Regions from separate parts of the Homo sapiens genome. Here all the other regions are linked to region 5. Evidence: promoter capture Hi-C in 16 types of primary human blood cells and fetal thymus (Javierre and others, 2016). All regions are on one chromosome and are shown on one strand. Each heading gives the region's core, a stretch centred on a gene start or on the middle of the fragment in contact. The rest is flanking DNA. Distances are from core to core; before and after follow the strand shown. Region 1 overlaps CSE1L (chromosome segregation 1 like). Region 2 overlaps ZFAS1 (ZNFX1 antisense RNA 1). Region 3 overlaps PREX1 (phosphatidylinositol-3,4,5-trisphosphate dependent Rac exchange factor 1). Region 4 overlaps STAU1 (staufen double-stranded RNA binding protein 1). Region 5 holds the start of NCOA3 (nuclear receptor coactivator 3).

What was found. Contacts are between HindIII fragments. The CHiCAGO score rates a contact against its expected background, and 5 or more counts as called.
Region 1: a fragment that was not itself captured here is called in contact with the fragment with the promoter of NCOA3 in region 5 in 1 of 17 cell types (fetal thymus); the score reaches 10.0 in fetal thymus.
Region 2: a fragment that was not itself captured here is called in contact with the fragment with the promoter of NCOA3 in region 5 in 1 of 17 cell types (non-activated CD4 T cells); the score reaches 5.1 in non-activated CD4 T cells.
Region 3: a fragment that was not itself captured here is called in contact with the fragment with the promoter of NCOA3 in region 5 in 1 of 17 cell types (naive CD8 T cells); the score reaches 5.4 in naive CD8 T cells.
Region 4: a fragment that was not itself captured here is called in contact with the fragment with the promoter of NCOA3 in region 5 in 1 of 17 cell types (fetal thymus); the score reaches 9.4 in fetal thymus.

The regions. Positions count from the first base shown.
Region 1 is chr20:49,047,925-49,050,624 of GRCh38, forward strand. All of the region lies in intron 1 of CSE1L (chromosome segregation 1 like), which reads left to right. Among named protein-coding and RNA genes, the nearest start is that of CSE1L, 3.0 kb to the left of the region's middle. The HindIII fragment of the contact is 707 bases long and covers 1,057-1,763 here.
Region 2 is chr20:49,282,280-49,284,979 of GRCh38, forward strand. The region is part of intron 3 of ZFAS1 (ZNFX1 antisense RNA 1); the gene reads left to right. Among named protein-coding and RNA genes, the nearest start is that of SNORD12, 2.9 kb to the left of the region's middle. RefSeq lists an enhancer at 1,228-2,160. The HindIII fragment of the contact is 3,903 bases long and covers 1-2,700 here.
Region 3 is chr20:48,775,279-48,777,978 of GRCh38, forward strand. All of the region lies in intron 1 of PREX1 (phosphatidylinositol-3,4,5-trisphosphate dependent Rac exchange factor 1), which reads right to left. Among named protein-coding and RNA genes, the nearest start is that of PREX1, 51 kb to the right of the region's middle. The HindIII fragment of the contact is 6,678 bases long and covers 1-2,700 here.
Region 4 is chr20:49,184,589-49,187,313 of GRCh38, forward strand. The region is part of intron 1 of STAU1 (staufen double-stranded RNA binding protein 1); the gene reads right to left. Among named protein-coding and RNA genes, the nearest start is that of STAU1, 2.4 kb to the right of the region's middle. RefSeq lists an enhancer at 2,490-2,559. The HindIII fragment of the contact is 2,335 bases long and covers 106-2,440 here.
Region 5 is chr20:47,500,572-47,503,271 of GRCh38, forward strand. NCOA3 (nuclear receptor coactivator 3) reads left to right here and starts at 1,316. Exons shown (of 23, transcript NM_181659.3): 1 at 1,316-1,448. RefSeq lists a cis regulatory region at 232-304 and a silencer at 1,556-1,675. The HindIII fragment of the contact is 2,001 bases long and covers 647-2,647 here.

The DNA.
Region 1 (2,700 bases), core at 160-2,659, 1.5 Mb after region 5:
TGTAAGCTGTTTGAGAGCAAGGACCTTGTCTGTCTTGCTTACTTCTCTCTCCCTGGTGGGTGCCATCCCACCTGTGCTTGCCACATGGTAGATGCACAAGTATTATTCTTCCTTGGAGGCACAGAAGGGGACCCTTTAGTCTTGGATTCCACCAATTGCTCTTTTTCTCACCTTGGGCCCACATAGTCATATCTTTGGCCTTTCTCTGTGTGTGTCTCTCTCTTTTTTTTTTTTTTTTTTGACATGCTTTCAGAGGATCCTAATGGACCTCGTCTCTCCGCTCCTACAACCCTTTATCTTTCACTTCTTACCATCAGTGCAAGGGAAGTCTCTCTCCCCTTCTGATTACTTCTGCTGGTTGGGGTCTGGGACAGGATTGGATGGATGCAAGAGCAGTGCTCTAGTTTTGGAATTAATTTGTTTCTTTATTCATTTAATAACTTTATTGAGCATCCACTTAATCTCTGGGAATATAGTGAAAAAACAAAAATGGACAAGGTCCCTTCCCTTGAGGACCATGTATTCTCGTGGGCGAAAGAAAAAACATTAGATAATTTCAGATAGTGACAGAATTATGTGACAGGTGAAGAAGGCTTTTCTGAGGAGGTGACATTTGGGTAGAGACCAGCCATTAAAAGGTGAGGGGCAGAACATTCCAGGTAGAGGGAATAGAAGGCTCAAGGCTCAAGGACAGGAACCGGCTTGGAATATTGAAATATTTAAGGAATATCTTAGGTTCCTAGAGTGTTACATGAAGAAGGGAGAAATATCCAGGACCCGGATCATAGAAGGCTTTGTAGGCAATGTAAGGAGTTTGGATTTGATTCTAAGTGGTATATTCCTATGGTTAGAAAGCAGAGGGTAGGTTGAGGTGTTGGGATATGTTCTTCATGTGTGGGTGCCAGATAGTTTTCATTCATTGGATCTCTTTCCCTCTTCCCAAATGTAAGGCCTCGGGAATGGTTCTCTAATGTGTTGAGGACATATCTAAGAAAAAGGCAGACATCTTGGATCAGCTTATGTCACAGATGTCTGTGAGATGGCTTTGGAAAACAAAGCTTTTATTCCAGAAATCTCCACCTGTAATTGAGGGCCTGTGGGAAGATGCTAGACTTAGGTCTGGCCATTCATTCAACAAGAAGAACTTGGAAATTTAGATGTCTGCCATAACTGATTTATTGTGATGCTTTTTTAAGTTTCTTAATTGTGTATTGGTAGAGATTTCCAAAGATAGTTACGTGGAGAAAGAAAAGTATCACCCCCTCATTTAAAGGTGATAAAAATGAATTCTTATCTTCTCCCTCCCTTTTTTTTTTGGAGACACCATCTCACTGTGTTGCCTGGGCTGACCTGGGCTCAGTCTATCCTCCTACCTCAGCCTCCCGAGTAGCTAGGACTACAGGCGTGCACCACCACACTCAACTAATTTTTATTTTTTTTTTGTAGAGATGGCACCATGTTGCCCAGGTTGGTCTCAAACTCCTGGACTCAACCAATCTGCTTACCTTGGCCCCCCAAAGAGCTGGGATTACAGGCATGAGCCACCCTACTTGGCCAAAATGAATGTTTTGTTTCTAGTTTGAGTCATTTTTAGATCAGTAACACTTTTTGCATTTATATATTGCTAATATTTCAGAGTGTCAAAGTACCTTTACTTGTGGTTGCATAAGATAATTAGAGCTTGATCTTGTTGATAATTATGAATACCTGTAAAATGTTCTCTAAAAGTCCCTGATTTCTCTTATTTTCTCAAATTAAGGATAAGCTTAGAATTCGGTTTTATAGACTATATCTGCAAGGCGATATAAAAAGGATTTGTTGACAAATAGTTCCTTAAAGAATATTCCCAAAGAATAAACTTTGGAAGGCCAAGGTGGGCGGATCACTTGAGCTCAGGAGTTCCAGACCAGCCTGGGCAACACTGGAACCATGTCTACAGAAACAACACAAAAATTAGCCAGGTGTGGTGGTGTGTGCCTGTAGTCCCAGCTACTTGGGAGGTTGAAGTAGGAGGATGGCTTGAGCCCAGGAGGCAGAGGTTTCAGTGGGCCAGAATTACACCACTGCATTTCTCCAGCCTAGGTAACAGACCCAGACCCTGTCTCAAAAAAGAGTATTAAGATTCTGGGATCTATGTAGTATTTTAACTTTGAGGGATTATAACATGCATATTTATATAACCCCTCACTTTTTTTTAAACTTAAAAATAGTCCTACCCTAGCATCTCAACTTAATCATTTTAGGTTTCATTCTATTATGTGGTTTTATTTATTTATTTTTATTTTATTTTATTTTATTTTATTTTATTTTTGGAGACAGGGTTTCACTCAGTCACCCATACTGGACTGCAGTGGCAAGACCTCAGCTTATTGCAGCCTAGACCTCCCGGGCTCAAGCAATCCTCCTGCCTCAACTTCCCTAGTAGCTAGGACCACAGGAGGGTATCACCAAGCCCAGCTAATTTTTTTTTTTTTTTTTTTTTTTTTTTGAGATGGGAGTTTCACTTTTGTTGCCCAGGCTAGAGCTAGAGTGCAATGGTGCAGTCTTGGCTCATTGAAACCTCTGCCTCCCGGGTTCAAGCAATTCTCCTGTCTCAGCCTCCTGAGTAGCTGGGATTACAGGCGCATGCCACCACGCCCGGCTAATTTTTTTTTTTTTGTATTTTTAGTAGAGACGGGGTTTCATCACATTGGTCAGGCT
Region 2 (2,700 bases), core at 153-2,652, 1.8 Mb after region 5:
TCAGGCTGGTCTCAAACTCCTGATCTTGTGATCCACCCGCCTCAGCCTCCTAACATGCTGGGATTACAGGCGTGTGCCACCACTCCCGGCCCAATCTACATTTTTATTTAGAGTTGACCACCAGAACAACATGGATTCAAACTTGCAGCTATTTGATTTTGGGCCTTAAATCTATCTGGCACTCCTCGTGGGATTCCAATGGCATCTATATAAACATGAGAGTCACGAGGGACATCCATTGTTTTATGATGTTCTGTTTTTATGTATGTTTTCTGGATGAAATACCAGGGTGAAAGGGAGATAGCCAATTGGATTAGAGCTCAAGTGCCACGCCAAGTAACTTGGCAGAGTATTCAGTAATGGTCCACCACAACACCACCATACGTTTGCTTGGGGATGAATAAGGGACGACTGATTGGTAAGCTCCTGGAAGGGCTTAAGCTCACTGCATCTCGTTAGGTCTCCAAGCAAATTCAAGTTCTCCCCCTGTGAGAGACACGAGGTAAAATTGGCATTGGAAGACGGATGCTTGATGGCCCTCGGGGGCTGACCCGCAGGGTGTCGGACTTCAGGGGACTTCAGGAAACAGCAGCGAGAGAGTTTGGCATAGCTTATTGCCCCAGGTTGTGGGGTCTTGGAAGAGAGCTGCCATACAACTTAATGCCTGATCGGCTGGAGGACGATCCGAGTGGAAAGGGAACAATCTGGGGCTCTGGCTTACCACGTGCGTAAGCATAACAATCGCTTTGTTTAGCGAGCGGACAGAATGTTTAATCCATTCCAGCCATGCATTTGCATCTCGGTACCGTTTCAATTGGTAGAGTTTGCTTTAGATCTTTAACCTCTACAATGGTCACTTTGGTTTTGTCATTGGGTGTTTGTTTAGAAGGGGATGAAGGGGGTGGGGGAACAATGAAGCGCATTTCGAAAGATCCTGTAGGGTCTATCCCTAATGTTGCGGCTCCCATGCTGTAGAAGCTACTTAAAGTGGGATTAGGATTGGTGGAGGTAGAGGTAAGAATAGAAATTTGCACTGGGTTACATTGGTGATATTGGCAATTAGAGGGGGCCTTCCCTTTGAAACGAAGGTAGGGTTGTAGAGAGATGCAGCTTTTTGGGGAAGTCTACCCTTGAGGATCGGTATTCCATAGGACGTCATTCCGGGATGGGCAGAACCTCTCCTCAAACCCTTCCCATTCCCAAACTGCAAAGAATGTAATGGATTTAGTTTCGATTAGGCAAGCATTGTGTGAGGATTTAGAATTTATCTTGGAAGGGCAGAGATATTTTTCTGAGAAGGCCAGTTGCCTCTGGTTTTGGAGATCCCCACAGGATATGACAAGACAGGCATCAAATGTGATTGAGGTGAGCTTGATCTAGTTACATTAATGATAAAATAGCTGACGGTAGAGAGAGGAAAGAAGACAAGGCAGTATAAGAGGGTTAAAGTTTTCGTAGCTTTAGGTTGGTAGAAATTGGCCCTGGAACAATAGCCCATGACTCTGAAGATGGTGATGCTGTTTTGACTGGGGTATGATGGGTCCACCCCTTTTCGGCTGTTCGGGCTGCTGTTTCAGTTAGGAGTGCTAGGTATGGTCCTTCCCAAGCTGGCTCCTTCCAGCTTTTGATAAGGATGTGATCTCCAGGCTGGTATTGATGTACCAGGAACTGTAAGGGTGGCATCTGTGCTAAAATACCTTTAGTTCTGAGGTAAGAGAAAGTGGAAAGCCAAGTATATAATTTGATCCTTTGTTTCAAAGGTAGGAATGTCAGTAGTAAGAGTGTAAATAAGGCAGTCCACATAACAGAGAGATAGGCCAGTATCTTTCTGAGAGGCAGTCCTGACTGAATTAGGTGAATCTGTAAACCCTTGGGGTAGGACTCTCCATTGGTACTGCTGCTTCCATCCAGAATGAGGGTTTTCCCACTCAAAAGCAAATACTTCTCTTGTCTTCAGCCAAGGGACATGCCCAGAAGGCATCTTTTAAATCTGTTACTCTGAACCATTGATTGTCATGGAATTCTGCTGAGGATGGTAAAAGGATTGGGGACAACAGGGTGGGTAGTCTGGACTATTTGGTTGATAGCCTGGAGATCTTGTACTAGTTGATGAGACCTGTCTGATTTCTTTACAGGTAATACTGGGGTGTTAATAGGGGGACATACAGGGTTCAGGGAATCAGTCCTGAATGAGAACTTCAACTACAGGCTTTAATTCTATTCTGCCCTCTAGGGGAATGGGATATTACCTTTTTCTTACTATTTCCCCTGGGGTCTTTAACTTTGTATGGATTGGAGTGACTTGAAGTTTCTTTTTTTCTTTCTTTTTTTTTTTTGAGTTGGAGTCTCTGTCACCCAAGCTGGAGTGCAATGGTGTGATCTTAAGCCACTGCAACCTTTGCCTCCTGGGTTCAAACAATTCTCCTGCCTCGGCCTCCTGAGTAGCTGGGATTACAGGCGCCTGCCACTGCACCCAGCTAATTTTTGTATTTTTAGTAGAGATGGGGTTTCACCATGTTGGCCAGGCTGGTCTCAAACTCCTGACCTCGTGATCCACCCACCTTGGCCTCCCAAAGTGCTGGTATTTCAAGTGTGAGCCAGCAAGCCCAGCCTCCCTGATTTCTTTTTCCTGCCCATACATGAGGATGAATGTATTTTTCTTCTGCGGTGGTAAGTCTCTTCCTAATAAGTTCGTTCCTG
Region 3 (2,700 bases), core at 141-2,640, 1.3 Mb after region 5:
CTGCGAAGCCTTACGAAGAAATCAAGCAGGAAAGGGAGAGATAAAGCAAGGAGACGGGTGCTTTTTTAAATGTGGTGGCCAGGAAAAGCCTCCCTGATAAGAACACGTCCAGCTGAGACCCAGATGAGGTAAGGAGGTAAGCCATGGGTTACCAAGGGAGAGCACACCATGGGCAGTGGGGCAGCAGGGGCCTGCTTGGTGCACAGGGACAACAAGGAGACCACAATGGCTGGAGCAGAGTGAACAGGTGAGAGTAAGGACTGGGAAAGGGGACTCAGGCAGGGGGTGATATGGTTTGGCTGTGTCCCCACCCAAATCTCATCTTGAGTTCCCACATGTTATGGGAGGGATGCAATGGGAGGTAATTAAATGGGGGCAGGTCTTTCCCGTGCTGTTCTCGTGATAGTGAATAAGTCTCAAGAGATCAGATGGCTTTATAAGGTGCGGTTTCCCTGCACAAGCTCTCTCTTTGCCTGCCGCCATCCATGTAAAATGTGACTTGCTCCTCCTTGCCTTCCACCACGATTTTAAGGCCTCTCCAGGTGTGTGGAACTGTAAGTCCATTAAACCTCTTGCTTTTGTAAATTGCCCAGTGTCGGGTATGTCTTTATCAGCAGTATGAAAATGGACTAATACAGGCGGTTTTGGAAATCTGGGCAAGAAGGTAGGTGGGGGCCAGAGGTGCAGCTAAGGAGACAGGGTTCTGTTGTAAGCTCAGCAGGCAAGGCCCTGAGGAAGGAGGGCTCTCACATCTAACAAGCAGGGGGAAGAGACAAGCATCACATCCTCACCAATGGAGGTGAGCACAGTGACCTTTCCCCTGGACGGTAGAGGACCCCAAGGCCCAGCTGGAGACTCCCCTCACCCCCTGAGGCTTATTTTCCCCCTCTGTAAAATGGGGACACAAGTCCTGCCCAGCCTCCTGCAGGGGCATCTAATGAGGAATGAGGCTAAAAGAGTGAAGCTAGAGTCCGGGTCATCCTGGACCACAACCTCAGGGCTGCTCTGGCCCCTACACCCCAACAGCCTCCCAGGTTCTAAAGTCCAATGTCCCCCATGGACCCCGCCCCCCTCAGACAGCCGAGACAGGCGCTCTGAGAGCCAAGATGTCCAAGGAGGTGGCACCTGGCAACCAGATGCCTGCTTAGCAGCTGTGGGAGGGGATGGCAGCTGGACTCCTTGGCAACCAGCCGCTGGAGCCTGGAAGCCAGGCATCACTTCAGAGGGGGAGTCCACGGGGCGGGGCTGGGGACAGAGTTTCTCAGGCTCCTTTCTAAAGCACATGACTCACAGGCCCTCGGAAAACCCAGCAGGCCCCTGAATTCCAGAACACTGCTTGTAGGGCTGGAGGCCTCTACTTTGCTCTCTGCCTGGAAACTACTTAGTGTCCAGTCACTGAGGTATTTGCTCCCATGGCCACTCAGTCTCCTCTCTGGAAGGGAGACCAATGCCTACTATGCGGGCACACGTGAAGATTCAGCATTAACACAAAAAATCAGAACAGCAGGCATTCAGGAAGCAGCTACCCTGTGCCAGGCTCTGTGCTACGTATTTCTCCTAAGAGTCAGTGGTAGTACTGTTAATCCCATTTTACAGATGAGAAAACTGAGGCACACTCACAGGTAAAGCATCACACACAGCGAGTGGCAGAGCCAGAGACTGACCTCCACTCCAGGCCCATAACCACTCCAACACCCTGCGATGTGCGAAAGGTCCGAGGGGTTTCTCCCGCCCCTTGGTCCAGTCAACAAGTAATTCCACTCATCAATATGAATAATAATAGTTGCTGTTGTTTATTGGCAACTATTTAGCAACTGGGAAGTGAGCTAACGTTTATGAGCAACGGGGAAGTGAGGTAAGTGGCCCACAAAGGCACACTGGGAAGGGGGAAGTACAGCCTAAATACAGGCTTTCTGATGCCAAAACCCGCCACACCACACGAGGCACAAACACCAGACCAGGTCTGAACAACATGAGCTGGTCATGCCCCAATTCTCTAACTCTCCAGCCTCCAGCATGAGGCCCAGGAGCCCCCGGCCACACACCACCATTCTCTTGAGGGTATGAAGGCTTTCGCTGGAATCCCAAACCCAGACAGTGAACGGAAGGCTGTTCAACCCCAGCAACCTTCAGAACTGACCATTACGGTTGATGCTGATCCCATGCCTACCACCCAGAAGTGCCTACAGACAGGGCCTCCGGCGGAATCCAAGGCTCCCTAACATCACATCACAAATATCTGAGAACAAAACTTGACAGCTAGAGTCAGGCAGGGAGGTAAGAACCTGAAATGCTGTTGCCCTCAAGAGGTTAACAGTCTCAAGGTAGCCACAACCACACATAATGGACTCTGATATAAAGACCAAGGCCTGAAGGGTCACGGCAAAGCCAAGCTGTATGGCTTGGGGCCGGCAGCTGTACCTCTCTGAGACTCTGCATCCACATCTGTAAAATGGGCATAACGACAGCAGTACTCTGTAGTGACAAAGACCTGCGGAGAGGCTGTGGATCAAGAACTAAGAACAATGCCAAAAACACAGCTCTGACTGGAAGTGGGGTTGCTATCATCATCATCAGCAGCAGCAGCATCATTATCGGGATTATCAGTATTTCAGATCCCACAGCCAGAGGTGCCCAAGACGTCTACACCAGGGGCTACAAACACCAATGCCAACAGAAGCCATGCAAGGAAAGTGACTG
Region 4 (2,725 bases), core at 23-2,522, 1.7 Mb after region 5:
TCTGTATATACATGGACTTTCTGGCTGAAACCTAAAAGAGAGCAACTTATTCTCAAGAAACTATATTTATGGTAACAATTCTCAATGCTTAAAAGTTTTACGTTAAGCTTAATGGGAAGCACTACACATTTTTAAAAATGTGTTGTGTCCTTTCCCAGATACTAAATTGGCGTTTCTTTCCTAAATCAATTTTAAGAGGTGTATCTTTCCCCATCTTCCAGGTAGTCATAACTAAAACATAACATGTAACATTTCCACTGTACCTGATCAAGCTCAAAGTACACCTACAAAACTCAAATAACAGACCTAAAAGCTGAAAACTATTCACGACCAGAAATTTGAAAGTTATGCAACAAAGACATTTATAATATTTATAATATTCCTGTCAACTTCCATTGTAAGAGAGATCCTTTAGACACAAGAAAGAAAAACGTGAACACTTATGCTGTGATTTCATACTATTCACAAAAATTAAGGTTTCATTCATATTTGCTAAATTTGTTATTTGGAAATAGGGCAGACGGGGGCACTTTGGAAAACAATTCTATGTTAGAAGATTATCTTTTGCTTAATTCTTAACCTAAGGTAACAGCAGTATCTTTACACAACTACTGTAAAGAAACATTTTAAGTTTTCATTATGAATTATTAACTGTAGTTTAACTTTGACACAAAGTTATCTCTATTAAAGTGGGTTAAAAGGCAGGTCTCTGCCAAAACAGGACTGGGGAAATCTGTATTTGTTCGCTTTTCAATTATAGTCATTAATAGCTCAAGAATTTTTGCTTTTGTACACAATAAAGCAGCAAGGTTGTATTTTGATTTTGAGGAGCTGAAGGCATTGGATCAAGAGTTAATTTTCTTCTTCTTTTCTGCTGTACAGAAATCATGTATAAACAGAGAAGGGAAGCCCAACAAACAAAAATGAGAACTATTATTCTACTAAAAGTAAATTTTGTGACCTTAATCTGGGGCAATCTGGTAAAAGTCAAAATCGCTAATGTTGTGACACAATGTTTAAGATTTGTTTCAAAATAATCTAGTTTGTGTGGGGGGATACAACATGAAACAAAACCGACCTTGGCTATGAGTTAATAATTGTCAAAGCTAAGTGAGTGACTAACACATGGGGTTCTCCATACTATTCGAGTTTCGCATGTTTTCCAGAATAAAAGGTTTTTAAAAAATGGTATTTAAAATACCATTTCCCTATTGAAATATGCCATTGTGATATGGCAGTATTAGACATGCTTTATACTGCTTGTATAGTTGTTTGCTTATGTGTTTTTTTTGTTTTGTTTTTTTGGAGAGAGTCTCTCTCTGTCGCCCAGGCAACCTCCACCTCCCGGGTTCAAGCGATTCTCCTGTCTCAGCCTCGGGAGTAGCTGGGACTGCAGGCGCCCGCCACCACACCAGGCTCAAGAGATAGTCTCCATCTCCTGACCTCGTGATCCACCCGCCTCGGCCTCCCAAAAGTTCTGGGATTACAGGCGTGAGCCACCGCGCCTAACCTGCTTATGGAGGCCTAGGAGGGTGGATCACGAGGTTAGGAGTTCGAGACCAGTCTGGCCAACATGGCAAAACCCCGTCTCTACGAAAACTACAAAAATTAACACGGCGCGGTGGCGGGCGTCTGTAATCCCAGCTACTCGGGAGGCTGAGACGGGAGAATCTTTTGAACCAGGGTGGCAGAGGTTGAAATGAGCCGAAATCGCGCCACTGCACTCCAGCCTGGGCGACAGCGTGAGACTGTCTCAAAAAAAAAAAAAAATTCAAACAAACATTTTAAATTACAAACAATGGTAAGACTGTCAGAAAATTCTAGGAAAATGTCAAAAACAAGGAGGCCACTTTGCCGCATGTGTGTTAAGAGATGGGTATAAATCAAAATAGTTTCAGTTCACTAAGGAAATTTAATGCCTAAAACAATCCTAAGATACAGGAGGATCACTCAGGTAAACACACACTCCTTACTCATATAAAATTGAACACCCATAAGTTGCATTTCCTTAGAGTACACCTATAAAACTAAGTACAGAATTTTTAAAAACCCAGTATGTTTTAGTAAAGTTGCTGTTCTAAAAATCCCACCTGTCACCAGGATAACCGAAACTGCTCCCTCTACACTCCAACTGTATTTTTAGTTTTTACCTCAACAAGTAGCAATGCAATTTACACTTGGTAAGCACGGATTCCTGAAACGCCAAAATCAACCGGGAACCTGATTTAACTCCACCACGCTCTTAACAATGAAAGCTACAAGCAGAAGAGAAGTGTGACCTTAAAAACTTCCACACAGCCGAAGAACAGTGGCAGAACAGACTGAAGCACGTATCTTCGCGGAACAGAAGAAAACTTCCACACAAGCAATACTGCAACACGGAGGCGGGGCAAGGGCTTAAAAGGAAAGTCAGCCAACAGGGAGGGGTGAATATAAGCAAAGCTTCCGTGAAAAAAAACTTATCGAGGTGTAGAGCAAGACAAGACAGACAAATTTTTCCATCTCCGTACACCCCCCTTCAGAGCCCAACACACAGCAAGTGCTCTAGATAGGTTTGCTCAACTCAAGGGAAGCTTCTGCCAGCAACTTTCCCAGAAATGGAATGACAAGAAGAAGCTGGATGATGGCGGGGCGGGGAGAAATGGACAGGTTGCTCATCCTGCGGGAGATGGTGAATATCCTGCAGTTGCCTAAGCGGAGATGGAAAGAAACAGCATCCATCGTT
Region 5 (2,700 bases), core at 66-2,565:
ACCATGGGGAGATTAGGGAATGGGTTATTTGAATTTTCTGGGAAAATACTGTTCTAGGCAGAGGAAATAGCAAGTGCACGATCTTTAAGGCCAGAGTGTGCTAAGCACGTTGGAGAGGCCGAGTCCATTGTAGCTGAGTTACAGAAGTGAGTGGAAGAGAAGAAGGTGATGAGTTTAGAGAGGGAAGGGCAGGGCAAGAGACGGGCTGTATGGGGCTTTGCAGGTTACTGCAAGAATTTTGCAGGAGGGACAGAGACTGACTTGGTTCTTACCAGGATTCCTCTGGCTGCTGTGTTGAGTATAGACTCTAAGAGGAAAGAGTGGAAGCAGGCAGAACACTGAGGAGGCTGTTGCAGTGGTCCAGGTGGGAAATGATGGTGCTGACCGTGGAGGTGGTAAGTGGTCAGATTATTCTATTTTATTTACACTCAACACATCTAATACTGACTCAATATTATCTAACATACAGTCCACATTGAAATTGCCCCCCAAATTCTTTTTACATAAAAAAATCATCCTGAATCCAATCAAGTCTCACCTATTGCTTTTGGTTTTCACCTCTTTCATGCTGTCATATTTTAAAAGACTCCAGGCTAGATGTTGTGTAGAATGTCCCACATTCTGAATTCGTTTATTTTTTCAAGTAAGCTTTTTGTGTGTATGTGGCAAGAATACGACAGAGGTAGCAATATGCTTTCCCCACTGCATCATATTAGGAGACACATAACAACAGTCCTGACCCATTATTGGTGGTGCTAAGTTCGATCACTTGGTAAGGGGGTGCCTGCCAGATCTTTCCATTGTAAAGCAAGCTGTTCTTTATTGTAAGTCATAAATACGCTGTGGGATGATACTTCGGGACTAAATATACCCTGAATATACTGCTGCCCAACAACATTTCACCCAGTGACTTTAGCAGCTAAGGAACAGCCTCGTGGCTTCCGACCTTGTGCCTCAGTTCGCTCATCTGAAAAATGAGGATGATCATGGTCCCTACCGGATGCTTGTTTTGAGGATCCGTGCTTGGCATACCAGAAACGCTCCACAAATGTTAGGTATTACTGGACGAAGGCAAATATGAAAAAAATTAAGGGCAGGGCTAGGACTGCATTCCGGTTCTCCGGATCCCGAGGGAGCTCCCAGTCGATGCTGGGCGAAAGCGGCCGCACGAGCCCACGTCGCCACGCCCTCCGCCGCGGAAGCCAGGGTGGGGGTCGCTGGAACCCTAGGCCGGCCGCGCAAGGCCCCCTGGGACCGGTAGTGCTGGGCGTGGCCTCGGGACTACATATCCCAGTGGCCCCCGTGCGGCGACTTTAGCTGCTGCTGTCTCAGCCGCTCCACAGCGACGGCAGCGGCTGCGGCTTAGTCGGTGGCGGCCGGCGGCGGCTGCGGGCTGAGCGGCGAGTTTCCGATTTAAAGCTGAGCTGCGAGGAAAATGGCGGCGGGAGGTGAGTGGAGATAAAGGAGGAGGCGGTGGCGGGCGAGGGGGTGGAGTGCGAGGCGGAGGGAAGAGGGGCGAGTTCCCCAGGCTGCGAGAGCCAGCGGCTTCAGATCTGCCAAGGCACTGAGGGGCGCGCCGGCCGGGGGACGCGCTGAGGTAGTTTCGGGGTGTCGGGGCCGCGCCGCTTCCCCTCAGCCCGGGGGGCGGCCCGCGGCGGTAGGAGCTGAGACGAAGCTGGGTGGCAGTCCGCTTGGGGATCCGAGGGGGTCCCCGCGCGGAGGGGTCACCCGAGGAGTTTGCGGGGGGACTGCAGGGGCCCACTTTCCCCTTCTGTCCCTAAAGTTTTTTCTTCCTCTTGCCTCCCCCAGCCCTTTTGAAAGCTCCCCGCGTCGTCCTCCTGCTGCCCCGGCTCCTTAGCAGCTTCTGGGACGCACGGGAGGGAAAAGCCGCGGGGACCCCCCCCACCCCAGCCTCCCAGCCGGGTGAGATTTGGTTGCTGTGTTTCCTCCTCACTTGGGCATTTAAAAAATATTTTAACACGAATTGTCCGCGGAATTTTCATGTTGGGCTCGGGTAGCTTCTTAGTTTTCTCGGTAAAAAGGCGTTTTACTACCTCTGGTGTGAAGGCTGGGAAATGGCAAGTGGGAAGTTGGTTGATAAAATTAGGAGTTTGGCTGTCTTTATTACTACTTTTTTTTTTTTTTTGCTCTCCCCATCTCTCATTTTATGAACATCGACCCAGTTCGTCATGGTTTAAATAAACTGCTTGTCTTGTACCTGCCTTAACAAAACTAGCCATGGGTCGTTGGGAGACTTAGTTGCTTCCTAGGCAGTTTGAGGGCATCTAGGGTGGAAAAGTTAACCGAGAGAGCGAGCATCTACCTCACTGGCAGGATCTGGGATTCCCAAATGGAATGACACGGAAGCTATGAGATTCTCTCGAAGTCGAAACTTTTTTCCCCCTCCCGAATGCGAAGACTTCCTTTTTGCAATATTTGAGCAGGGCTTCAAAACCAACCTGTTTTTGTTATTAAGCCTGTACGGTAAAGAAACAGGAAGGAGAGTACCAGCTGTCTTGCTGCAGTGGTTTTAAATGGAGTTGAATGAGATGCGTGAGAGTGGTAGTAGTATTGAGTAAGATTGCTGCATCTCTTTGATTTAAATGCCTGGCCTCGGATCCACCTAACTGATCCCTGGCTGCAAAAAAGCTTCAGTATTTGTTGCAGCAGGTTGTTGAGAAGGTGATTGGAGGAATAAAA